Linked DNA regions of Homo sapiens: regions 1, 3, 4, 5, 6 and 7 are each linked to region 2. The links are contacts of gene promoters, found by promoter capture Hi-C in blood cells and fetal thymus (Javierre and others, 2016). All regions are on one chromosome and are shown on one strand. Each heading gives the region's core, a stretch centred on a gene start or on the middle of the fragment in contact. The rest is flanking DNA. Distances are from core to core; before and after follow the strand shown. Region 1 overlaps TNR (tenascin R). Region 2 holds the start of TNR (tenascin R). Region 3 overlaps TNR (tenascin R). Region 4 overlaps TNR (tenascin R). Region 5 overlaps TNR (tenascin R). Region 6 overlaps TNR (tenascin R). Region 7 overlaps COP1 (COP1 E3 ubiquitin ligase).

Evidence for each region. Contacts are between HindIII fragments. The CHiCAGO score rates a contact against its expected background, and 5 or more counts as called.
Region 1: a fragment that was not itself captured here is called in contact with the fragment with the promoter of TNR in region 2 in 3 of 17 cell types (total B cells, naive B cells and erythroblasts); the score reaches 6.6 in total B cells.
Region 3: a contact is called between a fragment that was not itself captured here and the fragment with the promoter of TNR in region 2, in 4 of 17 cell types (erythroblasts, megakaryocytes, naive B cells and 1 more). The highest score is 6.5, in erythroblasts.
Region 4: a contact is called between a fragment that was not itself captured here and the fragment with the promoter of TNR in region 2, in 2 of 17 cell types (erythroblasts and naive B cells). The highest score is 5.8, in erythroblasts.
Region 5: a fragment that was not itself captured here is called in contact with the fragment with the promoter of TNR in region 2 in 3 of 17 cell types (naive B cells, erythroblasts and total B cells); the score reaches 6.0 in naive B cells.
Region 6: a contact is called between a fragment that was not itself captured here and the fragment with the promoter of TNR in region 2, in 1 of 17 cell types (total B cells). The highest score is 5.0, in total B cells.
Region 7: a fragment that was not itself captured here is called in contact with the fragment with the promoter of TNR in region 2 in 3 of 17 cell types (endothelial precursors, megakaryocytes and erythroblasts); the score reaches 12.1 in endothelial precursors.

What each region holds. Positions count from the first base shown.
Region 1 is chr1:175,426,760-175,430,759 of GRCh38, reverse strand. The region is part of intron 2 of TNR (tenascin R); the gene reads left to right. Among named protein-coding and RNA genes, the nearest start is that of KIAA0040, 240 kb to the right of the region's middle. The HindIII fragment of the contact is 172 bases long and covers 2,020-2,191 here.
Region 2 is chr1:175,741,252-175,745,079 of GRCh38, reverse strand. TNR (tenascin R) reads left to right here and starts at 1,485. Exons shown (of 23, transcript NM_003285.3): 1 at 1,485-1,854. The HindIII fragment of the contact is 6,381 bases long and covers 1,144-3,828 here.
Region 3 is chr1:175,379,021-175,383,206 of GRCh38, reverse strand. It overlaps TNR (tenascin R), which reads left to right. Exons shown (of 23, transcript NM_003285.3): 9 at 3,470-3,655. Among named protein-coding and RNA genes, the nearest start is that of KIAA0040, 190 kb to the right of the region's middle. The HindIII fragment of the contact is 598 bases long and covers 2,578-3,175 here.
Region 4 is chr1:175,355,383-175,359,167 of GRCh38, reverse strand. It overlaps TNR (tenascin R), which reads left to right. Exons shown (of 23, transcript NM_003285.3): 16 at 2,706-2,849; 17 at 3,535-3,665. Among named protein-coding and RNA genes, the nearest start is that of KIAA0040, 160 kb to the right of the region's middle. The HindIII fragment of the contact is 519 bases long and covers 1,179-1,697 here.
Region 5 is chr1:175,397,220-175,401,330 of GRCh38, reverse strand. All of the region lies in intron 4 of TNR (tenascin R), which reads left to right. Among named protein-coding and RNA genes, the nearest start is that of KIAA0040, 210 kb to the right of the region's middle. RefSeq lists an enhancer at 479-1,007. The HindIII fragment of the contact is 1,955 bases long and covers 921-2,875 here.
Region 6 is chr1:175,339,007-175,343,016 of GRCh38, reverse strand. The region is part of intron 18 of TNR (tenascin R); the gene reads left to right. Among named protein-coding and RNA genes, the nearest start is that of KIAA0040, 150 kb to the right of the region's middle. The HindIII fragment of the contact is 341 bases long and covers 2,012-2,352 here.
Region 7 is chr1:176,071,745-176,075,593 of GRCh38, reverse strand. All of the region lies in intron 11 of COP1 (COP1 E3 ubiquitin ligase), which reads left to right. Among named protein-coding and RNA genes, the nearest start is that of MIR1843, 110 kb to the right of the region's middle. The HindIII fragment of the contact is 2,706 bases long and covers 870-3,575 here.

The sequences.
Region 1 (4,000 bases), core at 856-3,355, 310 kb after region 2:
AGAAACTTGAAATATTTCAGTGAAAAACATGGTTATCTTTGGATGTAAAGGAGAAGTATCAGCCAGCATTGAAGGAGGAAGGTTCTACAGTGGAAGGAGCATGGAACCAGGATTTAGGAGACCTACATTCTAATCTCAGCTCTACCGCTAAGAACTGGTTTTTCTCACCTGTCAGATAAAAAGGTGTAAGGTGATCTCTAAATTCTGCTTTCTGATTCCATGTCTTGGAGTCTGTACTCATTGAAAGTGCATAGAGATGGGAGTGAGAGTAGTGGGAAATATTCCAGGACATAGCATGATTTCAACCACTAGAATGATCTTCCTAGCCTGCAATATGAGAAAACAAATGTTCTCATTTAGATTGTTGTCTAATTCTGATTACAGGATGCCTGACTTAATTCCTACTGAAGGAGTTAATTCTTAAGAGTCATCTAGGTTACCATTCAGCAATTTCTTTCTCACTTTTACTATTACTATGACTGCCATTACTTTGGCCATTATTTAACTTCCTCAGGCTCTAAGCAGAGTCAATTCTAAACAAAGCTGGCTGAGAATTTGTTGGTGCAATAGAATTTGTTGTCCAAACTATTGCTTGGGGTTTCAGAAACAGTTGTGGTGAAGTACTGCCACATTTTTCACCACTAAATGATAATAGATATAATATCATTATCTATATTATAATGTTATCATTATCTATATTATATCTATATAATAGATATATTATATAATAGATATAAAATAGGCTGTATCTCACATACATATTCCATCATTTTTGTAAAGTTGCACAAAGTACTGTGAGAAGGTTGGCAGGCGAGTGTGCTGTGATCAATTAGCAATGTCTGTCATGAGGGAAAACTCAGAAGTAAAGACACGCATATCACTTATTTGCTAACCCTGGGCTTCTGGGCTTTTGGGCTACCAACCTGTGCCTTCTTGGTGATGAGACTACAATGGCAAGGATCAAATTCTTCCAGAGAAAACATCTTTCCTCCATCAGTGACATTATACAAAACTCTTCTTCCATATTCTAGACCCTACCCAGTTTCTCCACCTATTCCAACCTGTGCTCTACATCCTTGGGAAGCACTTTACAAAGAGTGTTTCATGTAATATTAATCTCATAAGATGCTATTTAAAAGAAGGCCCTTTGGTTTTACATTCAGGATTCTCTGCATGCCAAATTCAGCTAGATACTAGTATTTTCATGTAGTAGTTACTGAACACTGATCATGTCATAGGTTCTGTTCTAAGTGATTTGTAGGTATTAGTTAAATTAATCATCACAACTCTATTTTGCCCATTTCACAGATGAGGAAACTGAAACAAGAGAGCAACTATTGGAGTCAGGATTCACTCTGGCAGTCCAGGTTTAGAATCTGTTCTTTTAATACCACTTGATGCTGCCTCCCATTTCTGCATTTATCTATATTTATAATCTGTATCTTTATCTATATATCAATTCTAAATCTATATTTACATATACATCTATATCTATCTTAATGATTCACAAATCATGTTTGCATGTTAAAGACTGAAAATTTCTTCTGTAAAGAAATCTAATGCTATTTAATTCTATGATTCTTTAATTTATTTGACACAAGGAACCCCTTACAGATACTTTTTTCTCCCTTTGCTTTGCTTCTAATCACAACCCATATCATAGAATATTCTAGAGCACCATGAAAATATCCTTCTGAGGACTGAGCTATAAAATGGAAGGATGAAACTCTTAAATCCTTGGCTCTGATTTCTGCTTTATTTGGACCAAATGTATAACTAGAAGACTCAAAACCCAAGGGAGGGGTGCCAATTTTTCAGGTCCCAAATGAGTTTAAAGGGAGTCCCTAAATGGGGAAAGCAGAATGGATTCTATCCCTGGATATCCAGTTAATTGTTTAAGTAAGTGATGATAGATGACAGACAAATGAGTCATGTCAAACCAAGAATAAACTAAGAGTAGTTGGTGAGCATTTCCACTTACGTAAAATGAGAATCGTGCAGCACAGGGGGAAAAAAGCTTGAAATTCAAACTAAAGAGATTTGTATTTGAGTCAGAATTCAACCAATGGTGGACACTTTATTCCATGTTATATGGCCAACATATAATATTATGCCTGGTAGGTGCTCAAAAAACATATGTTGATTTGAACAAATGTGTAATCTCGAACAATTTACTTAACCTCCCTAAGCTTTAATTTTCTCATATATAATATGAAGATGACAATAATAACTTCGACTTCCAGGGTTGCTTAGAAAATTGAATTAGATGATGTATTTTTAAGCAAGTTTTAATTTTGAAGGCTTATGTAAATGTCAGCTGCAAGTCCTGTCATCATTAACAATAATAAACTTAGCAGGATTTGAAACCCAGCCATAGTAGCTTATATCAGTTCCCTCAGCCATGTCTCACCAGATTTACGCCATGAGTAGGAGATGCTGGTCAGCAGTAGGCATACAGGGATACGCAGCCTCTAGTACAGCAAGAATTAAAAAGGAAGACCATTAAGGACAAAGAGGGACAAGCCCTAACCAAATTATCTTCTAGATCTGATGAAAAGCTTCCCTAAAAATTCCCTTAGATGCCAAGGCATTGGTTTACTGTTGATACATAATAGCTATTCAATAATTGTTTGCTGAATTCACCAACTTACACATCTTGAGGTTACTTAAAGAAGTAGAATGTCTATCTTCTTAACTTTCCCCTCAACTGTTCCTGAAAGCTACAAAAAGATAGGATTTTTATCTAAAAATCTAGACACCAATCCGAAACCCATTCTGCTGTAATGCATTTTTTGGTGCTGGGAGGGAAGTGCCTGGGAAATGGAGACAGGAAGGAAGGAAGGAAGGAAGGAAGGAAGGAAGGAAGGAAGCGAAGAAGGGAGGGAAGAAGGAAGGAAGGAAGGAAGGAAAAAAGAGGGAAGGGAGGGAGGAAAGAAGGAAAAAAGAGGGAAGGGAGGAAGGAAGGAAGGAAGAAAGGGAAAGAAAGAGGGAAGGAGGGAAGAAGGGAAGGAAGGAAGGAAGGAAGGAAAAGAAAGAGAGAAGGAGGGAAGAAGGGAAGGAAGGAAGGAAGGAAGGAAGGAAGGAAGGAAGGAAGGAAGGAAACAAAACACTTCTCATATACCTGTAAAGACCATGATAAAAAATAAAAAATAATAAAAAATAAACCATGATAAACACTTGGTTCTTCTTCATGAACTAGCCTCTAAAGCTACCCTGCCCAACACTGTAGACACCAGCCACATGGGACCATTGAGCACTGAAATGTGCCTAATCCTGTGCTGTGAGTGTAAAAATACATACCAGATTTCAAAGACTTAGTATAAAAAAGCAACATACATCACTCATAATTTTTATATGGATTTCATGTCAAAATAATAATATTTAGCTATATAAAAATTTTTTGCTATATGAAATATATTATCAGAATTCATTTCACCTGCTTATTTTTACCTCTTTAGTGTGGCTACTAGAGAATTTAAAATTACATACATGGCTCACACTCACTGACTTGTATAGTCATTGGACAGTGCTGCTCTGGAGCAATGATTTTTGAGCTGTGGGTTGTTATGTCTTGGTGGGTCATGAAACCTATTAAGTGGGTGACAACCTGTATTTTTTTTTAAGGAGAATAGAACAAATAAATTATATTAGAATGCATGGCATTGTGCAGGTCAGTGGTGCAATGGAGAACACATCAGACTAGGGATCAGAAGATTTTAGAATCCATGGCATTTAGTAAAGGTAAATATTCTTCTGTGAAACTTTGGTTTCATATATATAATATATATATAATATATTTTATATATAATATATATATAATATATTTTATATATATTTATATTTTATATATATAATATATTTTATATATATTTATATTTTATATATATAATATATTTTATATATATTTATATTTTATATATATAATATATTTTATATATATTTATATTTTATATATATTATATATATACACACACACCTGTATATATATTTATACACACAC
Region 2 (3,828 bases), core at 236-2,735:
TCTCATCGGTAATAGCAATTTCCACAGTTTGTTTGGCACCCCTAGTGGTAAATATTTTATTTTAAAAACTCAGCCACATATAAATTTATTGTAACAATCTAGGCACTTTGTCATAAATAAAAGCAATGATAACTGTGGTGCTATCTTCTATTTACTTCAAATGTCACTCCTGAAGTGTACATTTATAGAACATGGTAATTCAATGAGGAAGCTCCAGGGTCAGATGGCTCAGGTTCCATTACCATCCCTGACACTCACTAGTTGTGTGATCTTTGGAAAGTTATTTCATTCCTCTGTTACTCAGTTCCCAGTCTATAGAGTAGCAATAATAGCCTCTGCATTATAGAGTTATTGTATGGCTTAAATGAGCTAATACATGTAAGGGCTTATAACAGTGCCTAGCACCTGGTATAAACACTCTATAAATGTTAGCTATTGTTATTTGCCAGGAGTGAATCAAATATAAGAAGAGTGTTTGTATAAGATTACCTTTAAATTCCCTGCCAATCCTGAGGTTCTATGTTTCTATATCATTCCAGTCCCTTAGCATTCCTATTCAGTAGGGAGGGGGCAGCATTATCCACATTTTACAAACAGTAAAATTGAGCCATAGAGAAGCAAAATGTCCAGTAAGCAAGTGGCAGTCTGAAACCAGGACTCAGATTTTTAGATGTAAGTATTAGGACTCTTTCCGGGAGGCTGTGTGGCTGTACATTTAAAAGAGAATGTTAGATATCCCTTATGAGCCTATGAGCAGTGACCCCTTGATGCCCCTTCTCTGCCAAGGTTCTCCATAAATGTGCATCAAGGTCACTTCTGTCTCTACTTCTGAGATGATCTCAGGCCATATCTTTTCAGATATTTTTCTTACTAGCTTTACAAAAAAGCTATATTGTGGAGTTGGATGAAGGGCCAGCTCCCTGTATCCTCTGCCTCTTTAGGCATTCCCATGCCTGGGTTGTGCTACGTATACACATACTTCACCTGGCTGCAGACGCTGACTTTTTGGAGGGTTCCTTCTGCTGAGCCCGGACCTCAAACCACTTGAGAACCCCACAACTGACCTTATTCCAAAACATTCTATCCCAACCCATTCCACCCTGGATTTCTCCTTCAATCATGGGCAAAGGATCTGCAAAAGCTTCCATCCTCTCCCTTTCTCTTCTTATCTGGGTTGGTCAGAGGGAAGCCTCTATCTTCTTCAGGACCCTGCCTATGCAGAGGCAGCTCCAAGAGTTGGGTGCGGGGAGTATTTCTGTGCCTGAATCTGGACTGTTCAAGAGGATTTAGGATGCTTTTCTTTTCTGTCCACTAGGGGGCTGCTTGTAGGGGGATGGAAAAAACGGAGGCTTAAAAAAATCATGCTGCTGAAATTTCAGCAAGAGGGGAAAAGAGAGAGCGCGTGAGAGAGAGAGAGAGAGAGAGAGAGAGAGAGAGAGAGAGAGAGAGACAGCAAAGCAGTCCCAGGCTTCCTCCTCTCTTTCACGTCAGAGGCAGGAACCGACTGTGCTAAGGCTGTTGGCTCAACACCCAGAGGAGACGGGCAGACCCAGGGAGAGTGAGAGAAGGGGGTCCTCTCTGACCCAAGGAATTACCACTAGTGGAGTGAAGCCACCTGACTTTTTGATCTTATTTTGGTTGCCTCCTCATTCTCCTTCCACCCGTAGCCCTGACAGCTTGGGTTTCATTTCTTTCGTGGAGCCTTGTCTCTTCCTCCCAGAATAGGAGGAAGGGAAGAGAAGGGAAAGAGGAGGGCTCTCTAGGTGAGCGCATCAGCTGGCTCCAGCCTGAGCAAGCAAGAATTTTCTTCCCAGGAAGCTCCTCTCGCTCCCCGGCCGCCCACCCCCAGCCTGGGTAAGTCCAGAGCACTCGCTCCTTTGATTTTCTGGCTAACGTGATTTCAGCACCAAGGAGAGCTATGAGATGCATTTTGGTTCCTGTGTATCTGTGTGTTCTGCAAGGCATTTGGCACTAGGGTTACATCTATTTCTCTGCTGCCAGTAGAGTCGGGTTCTGCGTAGGGAAAAGAAAGGCGCAAAACTATGTTTACCGAATTAAAGGGGGATTGGACTCTGGCCTTGCGGGTGTGTGTGTGTGTGTGTGTGTGTGTGTGTGTACTGTTGCATAAGACAGGTGAGGTCTGAGCTAAATTGCGGGTGGTTTCTGCGTGTCTCCATGTAAGGCTGTTCTTTTTGTCTGTAGATAAGCGAGATGGTTTGGGGAATTAGTCGTGCACCTTCTTTAACTCTCTCCCGACAAGCCATCCATGGTGGGAAAGAGTTGCAAAGGAAGCCTGGGGGGTTGGGAGTGGAGGTAGAGTTAAAAGTTACGCACCTCTGAGAGAGCTTTAAAGAGGTGCTTTGTAAAATGTCAGTTTCCTAGTATTCTCTGGGCTCTTGCTGTGGAGAGAGCCCAACCTGACCTTTTACTTTCTCTTCTGGTGTGAACCCATGGTAAGTGGGCAGGTGCAACAGGTGAAGCTCAGGCTGGGGCGGCTTTGGGGGGTTGAGGTCCCTTCTGACTTCATGGTGGTAGGAAAGTGCTAGTGTCTTGAGCTTTGCAGAGACTGGCTGGTGTGGGTTATATTACATTTGCAAGGAGGCAGGAGGTACCCTCCACTTTTATGCCATCTTTGGCTATGGGTGGTTGGAAAGAAGACAAAGTCTGTTCTGCCCTGTTTTCTGGGGCATTTGGCAGTGAAAAACAACTAAGAATAAAGGTTTGTCTCTATATGTCTAGGGTGAGCAGAAACAAAATTAGACTTGTCCCAGACTCAGGAGGGCTTGAAGTGGTACTCTGTTCTCCTCCAGCACTGAGAGGCTCTGCAAACAGGAGCTCATTATTACTTCTTTCTTCACTGCTGCTACTTTTTGCAAGGTATTACTCTGTCTCTCCTGCTTTCTGCCTCTCTGAAGTATGTTCAGTCAATTCCCTGCATCTGCTTTGGTATTGTCTTGGAGACACTATAGGCCTGCCCCTGCCCCATTCAGTCCTGGCCACACCTACCTGGTTGAGTCATTCAACAAGTGGTGTTGAGGATTTCCTTCAATCATTCAAGTCTCCGTGGAGCCAGCATCCTACAGGGAACTTGAAAGAGATGTGGCTTCTTGTAGGAGCAAGTCTTCCCTTGATTTAACCCCTAACTGTTTATGGTTCTGGTCACTTTCTTCAAGTGTGTTGAGACAGGGGAGATACATAGGCAAGGTGGGGTGGTTTCACTCTTTCCAACCCCAAATGGACCCTAGAATGGTGATTCTTTGTCTTATTTTTAATTCAGCACAATGGGCCCCTTCTCCAAGATGAAGAAAATACTCTCTGCCTCTGGCTGGGGAGCCTTCTGGGTGAGAGACACAGTTCTGAGTGAAATGGCACCACTTTTCTTTTTTACTATGCTTGGCATTGGATCCAGAAATCTTAGCATCTCCCTAGAGTGGCAGGAAGTAGAATGCATCCAGGAAGACAGTGAAGTCAGAGGTTGTAAGGGTAGGGAAGAAAGACTGAAATAGACAAATGCAGAGCATCAGAAACCAACACTGACTCATTCAGTATTTTAACATTCCAAACCTCCTGTCCTTGAAATCTTCCAGTTTGAACAAGTGAGTGGATAGATTTCTGCATGACACATCACTGAGGATTTTTAAAAAATTATGCCCTTGCAGTGGACCCTGTCCAAAACCACAGTTTATTACTGAAGTCACCATACTTAGTAGTCATTATCTCATTAATGCCCTTAAATTTTCTCTGAAAAAAAAGTGCTCAGTGACATTATTGGACCCATTTTATAAATGGAGAGACACAGACGCTTAAAGTGGGAAGCCAGAGGATAGC
Region 3 (4,186 bases), core at 1,627-4,126, 360 kb after region 2:
TCAGTTATCATGAGGTCATTAGAGTGGGCCCTAAGCCAATATGACTGTGTCCTTATAGAAAGGGGAAATTTGGGCACAGAGACAGACATGCCCACAAGAAGAACACCATAGTGAAGATGAAGGCCGAGATCGGAATGATTCTTGATTCTTCCAGAAGCCAAGAAACGCCAAAGATCACCAGCAAATCACTAGCAGCTAGGAGAGGCATGCAACAGATTCTCACTCACAGCCCTCAGAAGGAAGCAGCCCTACTGACACCTGTACCTTGAGTCTGTGAGACAATAATTTTTCTTTTTTTTTTTTTTTGAGATGGAGTCTCACTCTGTCACCCAGTCTGGAGTGCAGTGGCATGGTCTCAGCTCACTGCAACCTCCGCCTCCCAGGTTCAAGCGATTGTCCTGCCTCAAGCCTCCCAAGTAGCTAGGACTACAGGCACCTGCCACCATGCCCAGCTACTTTTTGGATTTTTAGTAGAGATGAGGTTTCACCATGTTAGCCAGGATGGTCTCGATCTCCTGACCTCATGATCTGCCCGCCTCGGCCTCCCTGTGTGCTGGGATTACAGGAGTGAGCCACCGTGCCCAGAGAGACAATAATTTATATTATTTAAGACACCCAGTTGGTGGTACCTTGTTATGGCAGCCCTGGGAAACTAATAGGAACTTCCAAGTCCCAACAGTTCAAGCCCCTAGCTGCTTGGCAGTGATGCCGCTCTAGGACTCTTCAGGAAATTCTTTCACAATTTCAACCTGGATGATACTTGCACCTCAGCCAAGAATCTGGCTGCAAAGAGCAGGGTAGGACTTCCTGCTCATACAAGACCAGCACCCTCAGTCAAAGCTATCCTTTTTTCTGCACCTTCTCACCCCAAGCATTCTCAATGCTCCACAGCTGAAATATTTAACAAGACTTTTCTACAACTTGATGTGTGCTTATCGAACACCTACCAGGTGCCAAGCACTATTCTAGGCACTGAGGCTACAGAATAAACAGATAGACAAGATCCTGGTTCACATTAATTACATTCCAGTGGAGAAACTGGACAAGGCAGAAGAAAATAAACACCCAAAATTATTTTGATTATGAGTACTATAATGAAAAGCGAAATAAACGGTACAGAAGCGTGGCCATGTTGGATCAAGCGGTTTGAAAAGGCCTCTCTGAAAAGGTAACGTTTTAACTGAGACCTAGATGACCTAAGCCATGTGAGGATCTGGAGAACATTCCAGGCAAAGGCAGAAGCCAGTGCAAAGGTCCTGAGGTATGAATAAGCTTGATGAGTTTCAAGAGCAGAAAAAAAGCAATATAGCTAGAGCGCAATGAATAAGTTTAGAAGTCGTACATGGAGATATCTGAGAAGCAGGCAGGGCCGGATCACTCAGAGCCCTGCTGGCTACAATTAGGAGTTTGTAAAAGGAAGCAACAGAAAAGTTTTAAGCAAGGGAATTACTTAATCTAATTTATGTTTTAGTGGCTAGATATGTCTATTCCATAGTCTCAAGTCTCTCCACACAGCCTCCACTAGACATCTGTCTTTGCCTCGCTCTTGACTTGCTGACGTTGCAGGGAACAGCTCCCACCTACAGGGGTGCCCTTGGTGGCCCCAGTCTCCTAGAGGTCAGACTTCAAGGCCAGAGGGAGCAAACAATTTCACCTTGTCCTAGCTCTAACAACCACCTTTCCAGACCTCATTCTCAGGATTGACTTCTTTCAGGATCATTGACATTGGAGGTATCTGGTCCCTTCAGAGACAACACTTCCCCTTAATCTACAGACCACAACCCCTATGATCAAAAATACAAAACAACAACAACAACAACAAAAACCATAGTTTAACATTTCCAAGGCCTGGGTTTTTAGTTGTGAAGAGCACTAGGTAGAAGTCTCAACCTTAACCCTAAACCTAAATTAATTTTGCCCCAGTTCAGTTCTAGCTGCACACCCCAAGCCCAGTCCAGTCCCTTTGCCCAGCTTCTCCTCATGCATGAAATTTAGGGGCAACAATGCAGGGGCAGGTGTTCCTCCACATGCCTCTCTATCCAAGCTCCTCTCTCCATCCAACTGCTGGAGAAATAACACACATAACACGTCAAGAATACATAGTATCTGGCAAGCTAAAGTACAGTGAGTGAGGAAGAATTTCTCAGGAAAACAAGCTGCAGAGCCATAAATCTGCTAAAAGATTCACCCAATTTACATCGCTAAACAGAACACTTCTCACTCCAAAGCCTCTGCGCTCACATTGATTCACGGCATTTCAGTCTTCCACAAGAACAATTGGTGGAAACTTGCCTTGCTTTTGCATATTAAAACAGTCCACTCGAGGTTTTCTCACAATGAATGGCTAGTTCACTCCAAAGTTAAATTCAAGTGTCAAAGGCAAGAACTATTTTAAACGTTTTAAGTGACAGTTGTTCCGGGCAGCACGTTATTGCACTGCAAGTTGTTTATGCTGTTTCTGCCCAAAGCAGCTTGAGGAGATAGCCAGTCCTGGGAGAAAAAAAGCAGTGTCCCCGTCGTCTCTTTGTGGCAACTGCAGAGAACAAGCATTGTGGTTGATGGAACTCAGGAAAAGCTTCAGAGGCAACAGGAAGCCAGCCCAGGCCTTGGGCACCTTTTTTTTTTTTTTTCCTTTGGAGACAGAGTCTCACTCTGTGGCCCAGGCTGGAGTGCAGTGGTGTGATCTCGGCTCGCTGCAAGCTCCGCCTCCCGGGTTCACACCATTCTCCTGCCTCAGCCTCCCAAGTAGCTGAGACTACAGGCGCTGGGCACCTATTTTTGTACAGATGCCCATGGATTGCCTAATCCATGCAACAACCTGAAAATGTTGGTATGATTTGCCCCTTTTACAGAGGTGCCATCAAGGCCAAGCAGGGTTAAAAGACTTGCTCATGGTTCCATTACCAAAGATGTCAGAGCTGGGGATCAAACGGAAGCCTGACTCCAAAGCCTATATTATTTCTGCTACATCACATCCTCCATATATGTCTTACCTTTACAGCTGTGTTTATTCAAGTAAACACAGAGGAAGGCACCTTACACTTCAAAACCTTGAAATCAACAGTCTTCTTTTTGTTTAGTGGTCAAATTTGATATTGTTCTATTCCATCTCCATCACTCGGGAGCTGGCTCTGATTTTCTCCTCCTGGGGTTTCCCTTGTTTTGTTTTTAAGCTTATGATGTTGACTGGTTCCTTTTAAAGTTTCTAGAATGCCACTGGAACTCTTGAATGGAAATGGGGGAAGCATAAAGTGTATTGATCTTCAGCTCCCAAGTATCACTCTAACCTGCCCAAGGAATTTGTCACAGCAGACCAAAAAGCTAAGGGTAGCCACAGTGTTCATTCAAATGTGAGCCAGAGGGTCAGGGGGTGTGGGCTGTCACCACCAATCTTTTCAGAGTTCAAGATGCACCACAAATGTACATTACATTATCATGTGCGATGTTGGTGATGTCTGTCTATTTTTAGAGATCGATGCCCCCAAGAACTTGCGAGTTGGTTCTCGCACAGCAACCAGCCTTGACCTCGAGTGGGATAACAGTGAAGCCGAAGTTCAGGAGTACAAGGTTGTGTACAGCACCCTGGCGGGTGAGCAATATCATGAGGTACTGGTCCCCAGGGGCATTGGTCCAACCACCAGGGCCACCCTGACAGGTGAGTAAGACCTATCTCTTGGGGTTATGCTGGTTGCTGAGTCTATACCCTCACAGCTGTCTCCCCAACCTACACATCTTACAAACCCATGGCCAATTCCTATTGATCTCATCTCTTAAGTGCCTAGCACATATGTCTAGTACTATCCATTGTACTGCCATCACCTGTTCTAAGCTACTAACATCTCCTTTTTTTGAGACGGAATCTCTCTGTCACCCAGGCTGGAGTGCAGTGGCACAATTTCAGCTCACTGCAACCTCTGTCTCCCAGGTTCTCATCTATTATCTTAACCATTGCAATAACCCCCTCACATTGTCTCCTGGCCCACTCTTCACACCTCCTCCAGTGACTTTTTTTTTTTTTTTTTTTTTTGAGACGGAGTTTCACTCTTATTGCCCAGGCTGGAGTGCAGTGGTGTGATCTTGGCTCACTGCAACCTCTGCCTCCCGGGTTCAAGCGATTCTCCTGCCTCAGCCTCCCAAGTAGCTAGGATTACAGGCATCTGCCACCACGCCCGGCTAATTTTGTGTT
Region 4 (3,785 bases), core at 189-2,688, 390 kb after region 2:
TCTAAAAAAAAAAAAAAAAAAAAAAAAAGAAGATATCCCCAAACTCTGCAAACTGTATCAAATCTAGGAGCTGAGAAAGCTGAATCTGAAAGGTACAAGAAAGGCATGTAACCAAGGGCAAGTACAAAAACAGAGCAATAGCCCTAGGAAGATGAAACTCAGAACAGAGCTAAGACTTGCCCCCAAAATGCTACAAACAAGAAAGCAGGCTTTTCTAAATATTCGCAGAGCAAGAAAAACACTGAAGATATAGGACCAAGTTTGAAACAGAGAGTACAGGCTAACAGGTGACAAAAGATTCAGGACTGCTAAACTCTTCCGTGTTTTTGTCTTCTCTATTCATATCCAGCCCAACAGGTTTAACTAACACGAAATCTTGAAGTTCACTGTCTTCTGTATCATGCTTGTTCACCTTACACCATTTGAAGTTGAACAGAACAGAGAAGCCCAAAGCAAAATAGAGTTGAGTCCTCCAAGTCTCTAGGCTTAGGGAAGTTATTTCCCTGCCTTCATCAAACATGTGATCACAGAATTGTTTTGGGTTATATTCAGGAATCCAGAGAACAAAGATACCAGAAGACAGAAGGCAGGCAGATGTCTTGGTTTTCAAAAATGACAGAGAAAGCTAATTCTGTGAGCTGCAAAGAAGTAAACTTATTGTCAAAGCTTAGGAAGGTAAAAACTAAAACAGACAATTAAACAACTTGGAAAAGGAATTAGTGATTACCATATAGCAGCACAGATTCACCAAGAATAAGTTTTATCGAAACTACTTTATGTCTTTGTTTTCATTGGCAAACCTGCTAGTACATTTGTATTTCAGCAAGGCATCAGAAAACCCCACTTATCACTTAGTCCTTAGTTAACATGGAAAAATACATGAAAGGTCATATTTGGAGGTAGCTGGGACTGTAGCTGAATGAATGACCCTCCATGAAGAAGGGATAGCATTACTATGGGTATGTCCTAACCCCTCTGTGAGCATGCACAATCCATCTCAATTCCTGTCACCCCTCCTTTCATAACATGATCCCGCATTTTTTAATTATCACCATGCTTTCTCAAGCCTCCATGCATTTGCACATGCTATTTCTTTCACCAGGAAACTCCCCCATTTGCCTGCCTAGAAAACCCATCCTTCAAGTCGTGGTTTCAACCCTATCTCTTCTGTCAAAGCTTCCCTGAAGGCAGTCAGACACATCTGCTCACAGACACTAAACACACAGCTCTAACAGAGCAATGAACTTCCATTCATTCCACAAATACTTTTGATGCCCTACCATGTGCCACACACTCTATAAGGCTATAAGGATTCAGAAACAAAAATTGAGCTCTCATCTTTATGGAACTCACTTCTAATGATGTTGCAGAGAAGTAAATAGTTACAACTTGATGTGAGCAGTGTATGCTATAGACATGCACAGAACACCATGGGCCATGTCCAGTGGGCTACTATGAATAGGGTCAAGGTGTGGAGGGAAAGAAAGAAGAAAAGTCTTAGATAAAGTGAAAGAAGAAAAGGAGAAGAAAGGGAATTTCAAGAAAAAGAGCAGACTGTGGGCATTTGCAGAGATGTGAGAGTGTAAGAAGTCTGAAGAACTACCATAGTTTGGTATGGCTGGAGCATTAATCAATGGCATGATGTGCAAAGGGGGACATTAAAAAGATGATATCCTTATACATGCTCTTCCAAAGCTTAAGCATTAGTTTGAATTTTAACTTGTTTGTATGCCTTTAGACCACAAGAAACTTGAAATCTCAAAGCCCTACCTATTCTGAAAATGTGCCTAGTAAACTGTTAAATATTAAATAATTTCCAAGTATTCTAATTGCCCAACAGAGGAGTTGGCCCTGAACTAATGAACAGTTTTATCAACAGCTTGAATGAATTCAGAGAAGACATGCTTACCAAATTTGTGTATAAAACAAAATTGTGATCAATAGAATCCAAGTTCAAAAATATTTTAATCAACTGAAACAGTGGCCCAAAACTCAATCAATGAGGCAAAATGCAATAGAAATAAATGCAAAGCTCTGTCCATGGGTATAAAAAATCAACTAACAAAATTGGATTGAGAGGTAGGGGGAGTGGTTACAAAGAAGATCTTTGATTAGCAATAATCTTGGCATGTGATAACAATATCACATGGCATTCCCAAAACCTTACTAATTAATATAAGTGGCACAAGCACAGACTGACCCTGTTTATTTCATTGGTCAGTACCTCTCCATTATTCTCAGTTCTCTGAGTTTTGGACTTTAGCAGGGACATTGATAAACTGTTACGTGTTCAGAGAAAAGTAGATAGGACTGTGAAGGTTTTAAAATTGTCACATAAATGTGATGGGAAGTGGGGGCTGAATTTTCTCAGTCTAGTGGAGAGAGAACTTGATTAGGAAGGGTGGTGGAGAGGAAGGGGTCATGTACACAAAAGACTAGATTTATCCTTAATAACTCCAGAGACACGAATAGAAGTTATAGAGAAGACAATTTGACCTGCACATAAAGAACACTTTTTTTCAATTATGATATGAGATGAGAGGGGAATCCTTGCAAAGAGTAAGATACTAAGCTAGATAACCTATGAAAGATTTTTTTCCAAAATTCTCTAGTAGTAAATCCATGTGAAATACCTTTGGATTTGGTAGATCTTTCCTAAACTGAGTAGCCTTATTCAACCCTTATTCATATTCATTTGAGTTCAGTCGCTGGAGAGACCATCCTTGTTGACGGAGTCAGTGAGGAATTTCGGCTTGTTGACCTGCTTCCTAGCACCCACTATACTGCCACCATGTATGCCACCAATGGACCTCTCACCAGTGGCACCATCAGCACCAACTTTTCTACTCGTGAGTACATGGTCACCTACATACCCGTATCCCTGGGGACTTTTGTGGAAATGATCAGCTTTCTTGTGGTGGACTAGATTATCACTTACAGGCTTTGGACAGGGCAGCTATGAGCTGTTCTTATTTGGACTGACTACAGCCCAAATTCAGTGAAACTAAGCTGCAACTTTTGGCCAGCAGAGACATGTCTGTTTTCTGCTCTCACCCTGGGTGACAGCAGAAGAACCAGGTCAAGAGAGGTCTGTACTCGGAATGCATCTGCCCCAGAAAAGTCTGATGGATATTAAAAGGCTAGATATCTAGGAAAGAGCTGCTGAGTAGAGTGATGAATAGGAGAAAGTAGACATAGGTAATATGTGGAAACGTAAGTTCACGAGTGAACAAGCAGACATGAGAGTTTATCAGGGTCCAGATCTCAGGCATAGAAGGTCAGTGTGGAAGATGTCACACCCAAGCCTAGAGGCCCTGTAAGGGAAGGGGAAGTAGCTGCAAGAATGATCGTGGCACTGAATGATTATCATCTGACCCAGGAGCACCCTTTATGCTCCTTTCCAAGCCAGAGCAGGGGTCAGCATGTGAGCAATCCTGAGACCAAAGAGGTGGGCAACAGATACCCATACCTGAAATCAAGCAGGGGGAGGAGCTGGAGAGGCAGGCATGCCCTGGCACTTTCTCCTCTTTGCAGTCCTGGACCCTCCGGCAAACCTGACAGCCAGTGAAGTCACCAGACAAAGTGCCCTGATCTCCTGGCAGCCTCCCAGGGCAGAGATTGAAAATTATGTCTTGACCTACAAATCCACCGATGGAAGCCGCAAGGTGAGATTTTGCTGGAAAGGGAAAAGACCATTTCTTCCAAGTGAGGCCATGTGGAAACTGACTAGTGGAGTGACCACAGGACATTGGAGGGAGGGGGAAGGAAGCAATCCACAAGGATTG
Region 5 (4,111 bases), core at 649-3,148, 340 kb after region 2:
GGCCATCGCTGTGTTAATGCTATTCTGTAGCGCACATGCTTCTTAGTAGACTTACTCTTTGGCGGTCTGGACATACCTGTCATATTCTTGACCCTGCCTTTCTACAGGGATAGGTTCATTTGCAAACAAAATCTTGATCTAATCCAGGACTTACACTGAACCCTCCTGGCTACCTCAGGGAAGACTCAGCAGCTGCTAGCATAGCTACAACTGGGTTGAGTCCAAACTATGAGCACGTTACCTCTGACATGGTACCTCTGTGCTGCTTGAGGAACACTTCAATAGGCCCAGATAAATTACTTTACAGGTTCCCAAAGCATGTGAAGAAGGACAGTTGCATAATCTCCATCTGTTTCTATAGCAACCCTAGAGCCACCACTCATTTGCAGGAGGTCTGCTCTTAAGGCCTGCTTTTTAAACCAAGTGCTACAGGTCTCTTCCAGAGAAGTATCTAGGTCATTATCTAAAGTGCTCCTTTGCTTGCTCTTTGTGAAAAGACTGTAGGAGAAGGGGCTATTTATCCACTGTTTGACGTTCCTGGCCGGGTGCACACACCACAGCACGATGTTCCCATTGCCCATGGGACTGAGGAGAGGAGAGAGAAGGGTTAGGAAGGTGAAAACACTGAGAGCCACAAAATATACTTCGTTATAGGGCATTCTTTTCTCTTTGGCAAGGGCGTAGAAAATAGCTGCCCATTGTGTGGATTGCATTCTGAGGCCCCCTAGGTCTGCAGCACTTAAGCACAATTGAATAGTGTTGCCAAGGTCACTACTTTTGACTCCTAGCCTTGATCTATCCTCATAGTGTGCCAAGGGACAAAATCTCAAGACTTCTGCCTCCATTCTCTGCCCATGTACAGATAATAGAACAAAACATTCATGAATATGAGAACTTAAAACAGGCCTTAGAAAGAAGCTTCTCATTTTACAGATTTAAAAAGCAGCAGTCAGTGAGACAGATTTTCCCAGAGCCAGACAGCTAATTAATGGCGGAGTAAGAAAAAGAATCCTGGTCTCCTACCAGCTTCTAGCACTCTTTTATCTTCTCTGGAATGCAAAGTAGAATAGAATTGAAAAATAAAAATTTTAAAGCCATATACACAAAGAAGTAGCCTTTGATATGAAAGCTGAGCTCCATCACATGATTAAAAAAATGAGACGTCAGAGGTAGGGTGGAAAAGCACATTCAACCATTTGTCCACATCTGTCCCCAGTGATGGTGGTTAGTGCTGGGGCTGGCCAGGGAGCTGGCCAAAACTCCCCCGGAGCCAGCAGGATAAAAGAACCATCAGAACAGGGTCTTGAGACAATCCAGAAAGCTGTTTCCTGGACTTCAGTCAGACCTGCGGAGATTCATCAGTGTCAGCCTCTGCTCTGTCAGGACTGCAGCCAGCCCAACCTTTGGCACCCGAAACCACTTACTCTTTGGAGTAAGACACATCATGGAACTAATTCCAACTGCTCTCACCACATAAGTGCAACATTTATGCAAAATCTAAAGAGGAAACAGCATGGCATCTTTGCAGATAAGCAACCCTGATTCCTCAAGCCACAGTTTATTCCTCTTTAACAGCATGCTCTTCCTCAAGTTTCAAAGTTGACACCCCAAAGAAAGTAAGGCTAAGAATACTTTGCACCCACCGTGAATTCATTGAATTAAGGCATGAGGCTCTTTGATTGTTTGCAGTACAGTTCAATATAATTTTCTTTTATAAGGATTACTGATGCCTAGTGTACATAGTTGCTGCTAATTTAGAGTGAAAGTGGTGGTGGTCTCCTCCATTGAGCCACCATTGTCAAGACCACTTCCACGAGGAATGACGCCAGTTGCTGCTTTCTCATTCAGAAGTGTAGGCAACTTTACCACCAGGCTCAGGCCTCAAGCTAAGTTGCCAAGATTTTTTTAAAAATCCTTCTGCACCTCTTTTTTTTGCTTTAAAATCCCAAAATGCTCTTCTTAGATCACCCTCTATTGTTAATATTAGCTTTGAAGAAGGAAGCAAAAAGGAATACGCTGATTTGTTCCAAATGCCCTAAGAATTGCTGGTGACTTGAAATTTGGAGTGGCCATTTCTGCCACTATGACAGAAGTCCTGCATAGGAAACCTGGAGTTAATGTGTTGAATCACAGGAGACAGGCACTAGAGAACCTGTTTAAAAAGAATTTTCTTACCTGTAGGATGAGCACCAGTCTAGAGATCACACCTATTAAGATCGTCTGAATTATTCCTAATATAGTTTACTTTGGGACACCATGTATAAATGAAAGGAGGCATCTCGCGCAATCTGTAACCTGCTGTCTAAATTGTAGGGGAAAGAATGAAAACTGTAGAACATCAGGGTTTGACAGTCAGTTCTGCTATGACCCACTCTGACTTTTGGCACATCCCTTAACCTGGGATTCAGTTTCCTCATTGGTAAAGCTGGGATAATTATCTCTACATGAACTACCTCATATGACTGCTACTAAATATTTTTTTAAATTCTTGTTAGATGGTATATATGAAAATAGTTTATAGACTGTGAAATGCTATATAAATGTAAAGTGGTATTGTATATTGGCTAAGAAGGTTTATAGTCATTCTGCCTGCATTCTAATCCTAGCTTCTATGTTTGCTGACTGTGTGGCCCAATTTCGTCATCTATAAAATGGTAGTAATAATGATACCTTAATCCCATGGTGTTGGTGAGAGGGTGAATTGAAATAATCTATGTAAAAGTGGTTAGCATTGTACTTGGTACATAATAAGTGCTCAGTATAATCATGCAAAATCCTGACAGGTTCTAAATATCAACTCTTCTTCTCATGGCCTAGGAGTCATTCTGTATGTGTTATATAGGTTGTCCCAAAGGTTTTAGTGAAATTCAAAGCTTTAATAAGGTCAAAACTATAGGTGATACAGTTTATAAAACATCATTTGAAAGCTTATTTAAATTTCGTTTACACTTCTTGAGTTTTATAAATTTTAAACAAAAATTTTTTTTAATTTTTGTTTTGGTCAACATTTGCCATCCTCAAGAAGCTCTGCTTTCTAGACTGTTTTATTCAATGAATGGTTTTAGGCAAAAGTAATTGAAGCAAATGTCCAGCAGTGCATATATATGCTGCTGATTCTATCCTGTGAGTCTTGGATCTGTTAAAGGTCTCCTTGTGTCTCTGTCTTTGCTGAGGATTTGAGGGTGCACATGTGAGTACAATGAGGAGACAGCACTCTCCACTCACAAGGTCCAGCAAAACACAGCTGGCCTCAGCCTACCTGGTTGTAAAGGGGAGGGGTGAGATTACCCAGGGGAGAAATTCAAAACCTATGACAACTCTTAAACTCATCGAAGCCTCCACTACATATAAATTTATAAGTTAATAATGACCATTTAAATATCGGCTTGATCTTTGATTTAATCTATGGGCAGGTCTAATTACAGACACACTGGAGTTAGCCTCTTAGTTAGTCTTAAAGGCTTGATTATTTAATGGCCACAACACTGGTGAATCTTCATTTTCCAAGACGATACACAAAAGTCTATTTCTCTGTGTTTTACCCTTTGGTGACTCCAAGTAGCATTTGAGAAATCAGAAGAAAGTAAAGCAAGGTCCTCAAGAATGTTTTTTTATCATCATCATCTCCAAGATTGAGGCTAATAAAAATTAGTTTAACACAAGCTAGATTTCTTTCAGAACATAAGTGGTCTTTAAAAGGGAAAATTCTACAATAATGGGCTGTTGAGTGTCTTCATCAGGCCGTGGTATCCAGGACTTACTGTTTTGGCTTCTCATAATTTGCAAGATAATCAGGAATGAGTCTTTATTTCCACTTGCCAAATCAGATATTGGCTCCCAGGGTAATCTGATGACGATAACTTATTAAACCACCAAAAATGTTGGCCAGTGGTGTGCTGTTAAATACCTAACAACCTGGCTCCCTAAAGGAAAAAAATTTAAAAGCCCCGTTGTGTAGCATTTGCCAGTTTCCATGATGTAAATACTCTCTCCATGGCCAATTTCAATTACCAACATGACGTCAGTAAACATGGAGCTGGAAACAGATGTGTAGTAGAGTACAATCATAGAATATTTTCACCAGACAGAGCACACATAAATTATCTTAAAG
Region 6 (4,010 bases), core at 933-3,432, 400 kb after region 2:
CAGGACCCAGCCCTCCCTTGCCATGTTGAATCAAGAGCCACAGACAGGGGCCAGGCTGCAACTGCCAGTCTGTGATCAATCTAATCTGCCATGAAATTGGGTCTTCTGATATAAGTGGATCAAAGGAATAATAAGAGAAATGATGTCAGAACATTCCTCTAGTACTAGGATGCCTTTAGCTGACCTGTGAAGGGAGGATTTAGATGTCTTAGATGTCTGTTGCACTTGCCCTTGGGCAGAAGGCAGGTGGTCTGCAGAGCCTGATGACCTTCTTCCGGAACTCTGTTGAGGGTGAACACATCAAAGCTGTCTTGTTCAGTTAATTCTCCACTCACTCTATTACCTCCTTAAAGGCTATTGTCACTCTCCTCCTGGGTTCCCACCACTACATCCTGAATGGAGTCCTGCCTCCAGGCTCACCCCCATCTAATTCATTCTCCACATTGCACTGAGAATGGTCTTTCTAACAAGTTGAGCTTAAAGTCCACCAAAAGACTCTTCCTCCAATTGCCTCCATAAATGACATGATCCCATCCCTGCTTACCTCCCCAGCACTCTCTTTCCTCCATCCCACCCAATTCTTGCTCTGTCTCCTGCTAAACCTTCAACTTCTCAAAGGGGCCGTACTTTTGCACAGGTCTGGAACACCCTTCTCCACCAATTTGTGGCCAGCATCCAGGTCAGTTCCTAAAGTAACTTTCTGATTAGCAGTTGTCACCCTTTGCCCTATCCCGGGCCCCCACTTCTCACCCTGTCCTTGCCAGCCAGGCATCATTGCACGCCCACATCCAGGTTTTGCCAGCCCACAATGTTTATCTCTTTCCCAGAGCACTTAGAGCTCAAGGTTATATTTGTTTCTCCCACCACAGCATGAGCAGCCTGAAAGGTTGTGACTGTGTCTTTTCCTTCTTTATATTCCCATCTTTTAGCCCAGTATTTAGAACCCAACAGACACTCTGTTATATATTTGTTGAATTAGTAAGAGTATAAACAGGTAAATATACTGGAAGACGCTGTGAGAAAGCCAAGTGGCTCACCCCATGTGGGCTGAGCAGGTAACCTTGTCCTGTTGGCAGACTTAGGCTGCCCCTGACAGTCTAGCCAGCTACTCTGCAGATGTGCGCCATTGATTCTAACAAGGGAGAGTCAACCACAAACAAGCTTCTGGGAAAAAGCAAATCTAAGTGTTGATAACCAGAGGTGGCCGCCTGCACTTCTATGGCGCAACACTGTGTTCTGCGCTTACAGAGAAACCTGCTGAGGCTGTTTTCAGAGACAAATGCTGACATTGTGGCTTCAGTCCTGATGCTGAGGCCAGAAAAGTGGACAGACACTTGCCAGGGCCATTAAAGCTGATCATTTTAAAGGAACACCCAAGAATCCAAAACAAGTAAAGAGCAGGGCCAGGACAGAGAAAGTCTGTCCCAGCAGTGGTGGTCCCCTGACTGCACTGCGTGTCATGTAGCTTGCTCCACTCCACTCAGCATTCAGCCTCCACTTCCCAAAACAAACCAATTTCAGAGCAATTCTTCTGGTGAACGCCATGGTCCCGTTGATCTCACAATTACATCTAGAAACACTTAACTATGAGACATTTCAGTGTACCAAGCACTTGTTGTGGCTTTTCTCTTAACTTAGTAATCACCACAGCCTGTGCTAAAAAAAATAAAAATTAAAAGATTCTCCATCGGTCTAGGCTCCAGTTATTGCACCAAAAGGAAGAAAAACCTTCCAGTTTTGCTCTTGGTCTTAAGATTTTGCTTTGGGAAAAATTACTGAGCTGATATATGTTGGGGTCAGAGGCGAGTTTCTGATAATATTAAATGGTGTGACATCCAGAGAGCTAGGAGGGCCTGAAATTTGCCCTGACAGTCTCCTAAAATGTATAAAGCCCCAGTACGTTCACATTGAATACAGCAGAACAGGAACCAGTGTGTTCTTTATTATTAGCTAAGCAAAGTCCAATAACCCCCAAAGCAGAACAAAACAATAAATACTAGGACACAAAGCTTAGACTCCAGGCTAAATGCAATCTCTTATCCCCTCTCCTTCCTATCGCACTCAATCCAATTCTTGGAACCAGCCCACTCAAGACATACCTACTGGGAAAGGGAAAGAGGGGGAGAGGGAAAGAGGAGGAAAGGGGGCAAGTGGGAGAGAGAGACAGACATTCAATCTACAGTATTCATCCACACAGCCACAAGGATCTGGGCAGAGAACACAGACCACAGGGCTCCTCTGAGGCATTGCTTAGTTTACCAATTCCACTTCTTGGCCTCTAGAGAAGAGGAAAATGTGCCAGACAAAGAGAAGGTTCAAATCTAGCTGGTCTTCAGACTTGTCTGAGAAGCTTCAGTAAAACACTGATTCCCTGCGCCATCCCCTGATATTCTGATTCAGTGAATCTGCTATGGAAACCAGGAATCTGAATTTTAATAAGGTCCCAGTCTGAGAACCATTAGTGAGCCTCTGCCTTCTCTTGTCTGCAAAAAAAGGAATAATATTTTGGACAAGGACTAGAGTTGCAGGCTGAAGCAGGTTGAAAAGGAATGGTTTTGCTGTAAATGTGAGGTCTTCTCCAAGTTCCGAAGATGTGAAAATCCCAGGTTGCTGCTCTTGATAGTCTGTGTGAGCAAAATGCTTGTTGTCTTTACATTAATGCCACTGACTAAATCACAGCAAATGGAATCTATAAACAACCAAATGGCCTTGCAATTTGTCAAAGGGAAGGCAAGCGCACCCAGCAACGATGCATCATTGCCTCATGCACATCTGGGGAGTACCCGCCCCCCGCCACCCCACCAACCAGCTCATTGCCGGCCTGGAAGGAAGAAAGCATGGTCCTTCCTCTCCCAGGGTGTAATCTGGGACGTTTATCCCATCCAGTGTTTGGCACCCCTTAGAAAACACTTTTTTCTTAAGATAATTTTATTCTTATTTTTCTAACTTTAAAAAATGAATCACTATTTTATATGATAGCCATTCAGGTATTCAAAACTCCCCTTGTCTAAGTCATCTCAGTTTACTGTATTTGTCTGTAGGTCTAGCTTTAAAGCAACTAATATGTTTGAGCCTTTAAAAAGTATCTGTAATATAAATATTAAATCAATCTACATTATCAATATGAAGAAGCCTGCATGAGATCGTTTGTTTCCCCATTCTGATGTTTAGATTTATATGTGTATTTGTATGAGACTGTCATTTTGAGATTTGTGGGGAGATGTTTTGTTGGGGATACATTGGATATTGGAAAGAAATTTGGGGTTCTGGCTCCTTCAAGAAGCTGAGTTTATTGCATGAAGAAACCTTTCTTCAGGAAAAGGGGCTATTAGTGCATACCTTAGGAGTAAGCTAAAGACCAAGGGCACTAATTGCTGATCTTCTAAAATGAGAAACTCAAACAGTGAGATGAAAGGGGAGAAAGAAAGGCAGACAGGCTGGTTGTTCCAGAGGCCAGGTCAAGAATGAGGAGATAATAGCAGTGCTCCCAAATCAGCAGGGAAGGAGACAGAGACAGCTCACACCTGTCTCCTGAAATGTAACTGTAGCCTCTAGGGGTAGGTGGGATCAGGAACTATGAAGAGTTCTAGGACACTCTGCAGATGACAGTTAGCTTTTCTGCAGCTATTAAGGAAATCAGTTTGAGAGGGTATGGATATTTGATTTGAACATAGAAATTTTTGAGATCTTTAATCTTTGGGGTTTTTTTGCTTGTAAGATAAATGCAGGTATTAATTAATCCTTTGCTGTATGCATAGATTTCTATCTTCAGTAAATTCAATCATGCATTATATTTCCTGCTTTAGTAGAGTGCAAACAGCACTTAAGCCATCTGAAAATATGAGTTCCAGCAATCTGAGTCATGTAATCTTTCTGAGTGCAGTTTCCTTCTCTGTAAAATAAGTATATCTATACCAATCTGCTGTCCTCTCAAGTTTCTTGCAAGAATTAAATGGAAATAAAAACACTTGGTAAAGGATAGGTTCTATAGAAATTTATTGTCATTCCCT
Region 7 (3,849 bases), core at 973-3,472, 330 kb before region 2:
ATCTGCATCTCTTAAAATGGACATTGTTAAACCACAGGGCTGTATCACATCTAAGCAAATTAACAGTAATTCCTTGGTATAATCAAATTGCTACTTTGTGTTCAAATCTCTTAGAACGAATAACCCTAAAAAGATGTTTTTTGAGGCATATCGGGAATTTGGTAAGTTTTAACGTGTCAAATATTGCTAAAACTTAACATGCTTTTCATTTACAGGACTAAGATTTGAATTTATTATGTATATGAAGATCTTAAAATTTAAGCCATTAGCTAAAGAAACTATTGGAGGAGATCTTTTATTGTATTCTGTCAGCTGTTTAACTCAGTAATGAGTAAGACAAAAATCATACATTCCTTTATTTTTCTGTATGTTGGCACTTGACTGAGTAAAATTTGAAAATGCAGCAGATTATGGGGTGCATTTTATTACATAATTTAATTAACAAAAAATCATTGATAACGTAGTGCAGGCTAGGCCAGACTAGGCATATAGTCATGAACAGGCCAGACGTGTTACTTGGATTCAGGAGAGCTCACAATCTTATTTTAGGGCCCTTATAGATAAGAAATAAAAGAATAGTTTATGAAACAGTTTACTTTGGAGCAACATATTAGCATTCTTACTTAAATTCTTAACTATGTTAAGAATGTATACTATGCTTTTAAGGACTTCAGAAATGTAGATTGAATGTGAAATGGCAAAAATAAGTATCAAAGTTTATTTATAATATTGACCTGATATGTATGCACTTACCTGTAGTTATGTGACTATACAAAGAGTAATAATCTTTTTTTTTTTTTTTCATTCCTGAAAGCCATTTTAGCTTGATTTTGGGGAAGAGATGGTTTCATTATTGCTTTTTTAAAGCTTGATTTAATGTAGTGTTGAATTTTTTACAATTGCTAATAAACCCTAATCATACTGACATTTATGTGAAAACATTGTGCATTCTGAGGCAGAAATACATTCTTAGGAAGACCTAAACAAGATCTTAGTTTGGAAATACTTACAAATTGTGGTTAGATTAAAACATTTAGACTAATATAAGAAATTTTTAAGATACCTCTGGTTGGGCCGTCTTGCATGCTACATTCGTTTTTTTTCTATTAATTACACCAAATTAATGTTTTTTAAAGAAAAAATTCCAATTTTAAAGTTTCTTAGGCATGAGAGATGAAGACTAGCAAGAAAGGATGATATGGCCAAAGAAATGAAGGTGTGAAAAACTCTCACAGCTCTGTTGATTTTTTGCTTTTCTTACTTTCTTATATTCAAACACATCATTGATAATAAATTTACTTCAACGCCTTCTAATTCCTCCCAAAAAAGGAAATTTAATTAATTTCTTTCAGAAAGAGGAATAAAGAGGCCAGGTGAGGTGGCTCACACCTGTAATCCCAGCACTTTGCGGGGCCGAGGCAGGCAGATCACTTGAGGCCAGGAGTTCCAGACCAGCCTGGCCAGCATGGTGAATCTCCATCTCTACTAAAAATACAAAAATTAGCCAGGCATGGTGGCGTATGCCTGTAATCCCAGCTACTTGGGATGCTGAGACAGGAGAATAGCTTGAACCTAAGGGGCAGAGGTTGCAGTGAGCTGAGATCACTGCACTGGGCAACAGAATGAGACTCTGTCTCAAACAAAGAGGCCTAAACAAGTATTTGAGAAGGCAGATAATGTTGAATTTGGTGCATTATTTTGTTACTTTGTAGAAGAGATAATTATTCTTACTGTAAAATTGCATGACATAATGTTGGTCACTTACTGCAGTGATAATCTGAGAGAAAAGGCCGAACCAGAAACGTATTTTTCTTCCTTTGCTTATTTGGAGTTAAGACCATACCCTTCAGTCCACAAGGTGGCAGCATTTGTTTACTTTGACAGTATCTCGACTATTAAACAATAGACAAGGTACGGAATTGGTGACATACAGTGAAGTTCACTCTCATAAGTAGAAGATGGTCCTAGGTTAGCAATGGCAAGGAACAGGAAAGAAGACAGTTAATTGCATTCTTTTTACACACAGCAATAATAGCATATTTTGCATTTTTTATTCTATTAGGTGTTCAGTGTCCACCAGAGAGAAATAGTTTGAAACTGTATAGTTTAAACTTAATATACTTAGTAGTGATGGTTGTCTTTTGAATTCCGAGTTTGAATTTTGTACAACTAGATTGTTATGGTAAAAATTGTTAAACATTCTACCTCTAGAGAGTTTTTCAATATTTTTACTTATGTTTGTTCAAACTGTTGGAATGGAGTTGTATCAAGCATTAGTAAATTCCTAAGAAGAAAATAGTTATCTATGGTGGCATTCATTGATGCTAGAATAGTCTCTGTACTGGTAATGTGGAGTGTGTTACCTACTCATTTTTAGACAACATCATAAATATTTTACATCAATTCCCTAATTCATTTAATCCTTGTATCAACCCTGGGTAGCAAGATATTGCTATTAACCTCATTTTACAGATGAAAAAAACTGAGATAGAAATTTTGTAACTTGTCCAAGATAAACCTAATGCCAATAATAGACAGAACTGAGATTTGGATACAGGCGTACCTGAATTCTAGTGCTCTTCTATTCACTTAAGGATTTATTGAAACTTTGTAAAGTTTCAGAAAACACTTTTCCTTTGAGACACCCAGAAGAAAAAGAGGAATTAATTCTTTTGAGGTTCTGACACTGTGTATCCCTATTCCTATAAGGAGGTCAAAATAATGAATATTTTTTATACTAATTTTTGACGTATAATTCTGCACCTTAGATGTCACTTTACCATAGTTTGAAACTATTCAAATTAAACTTTATGTTTCTATGATAGTTACAAGGATCATTTTTGCTAAGTTTCAATTTATAATTGCAGCAAATGTGGATCCAGATTGAGGGTAACTTTTAATATGTTCCTTATTGTAGAGTGCTTGTGAGCTTTAAATTTATACTTAAAAAGACATCTCTAGATAATTATTGACTTGTTTTCTAAGGAATGGATATGATTTTTAAGACTGCCAATGTACTTTCCCTTTTTGTCAGAAGGTATTTCCATTATTGTCTTAAGCGTTATTGACCATCTGGGGTTGGTTGAGAAATGAGATGAATGGGAGTGCAGAGGGAGGGATTTCCTTCCCAAATTTTGCCTGGGATCAGTCTTTTAAAGCAGTTATTTTTAAAGCTGTGTTTTAGGCTGAGAGATTCATCTAGGCAGGGGCCTTACCTGTCTTATTTCTTGCATATTCCTATGTCTGTAAATATTTGTTAAATGAATGCATGAATGAATGAAAATTTGTTTTACCTGCTGGGAGAGGATCCAGAGTAAGTAGGACTCTAGCATTTGTCCATATATGTCCACATATTTGCTTGTTGAAAAATATTCCTTTGAAGAAATAATCCTTAGGCTATAAAAGAAGTTTGTGAATTACCAATGACATGTGACAGAAATATAAATTCATGTTAACAACTTAAAAAGGAATGCAAGATTGTCAGCAAGTGTTGGTGAGTTTTCTACTTCTATGGTAATTCAAAACATACATGATTCAAAATAAAGGTTAAAAAGGAAACACAAACAATCTAAGCTTAAACTTTGAAAGTCACTACATGTATTCCCACCCTCATAACTTCTACCCTAAAATTTTCTTCTTCTAATCTCGACTTGGTTTTCCTGTTTATTTTCCCTTGCCTTTATTAGAGGCTTGTCAGTAGTACAGAGTGAAGCCATAAGCTGAAATAATTTTACACATATCCACAAAACAAGCATTAATTAGGTTAGCATTTAAAATTTTAGTAGACTTGTGAAGGTTTGTCACAAACCAGTGTTTGGTATCCAAGAAATAAAAGTAGAACTTACGTCT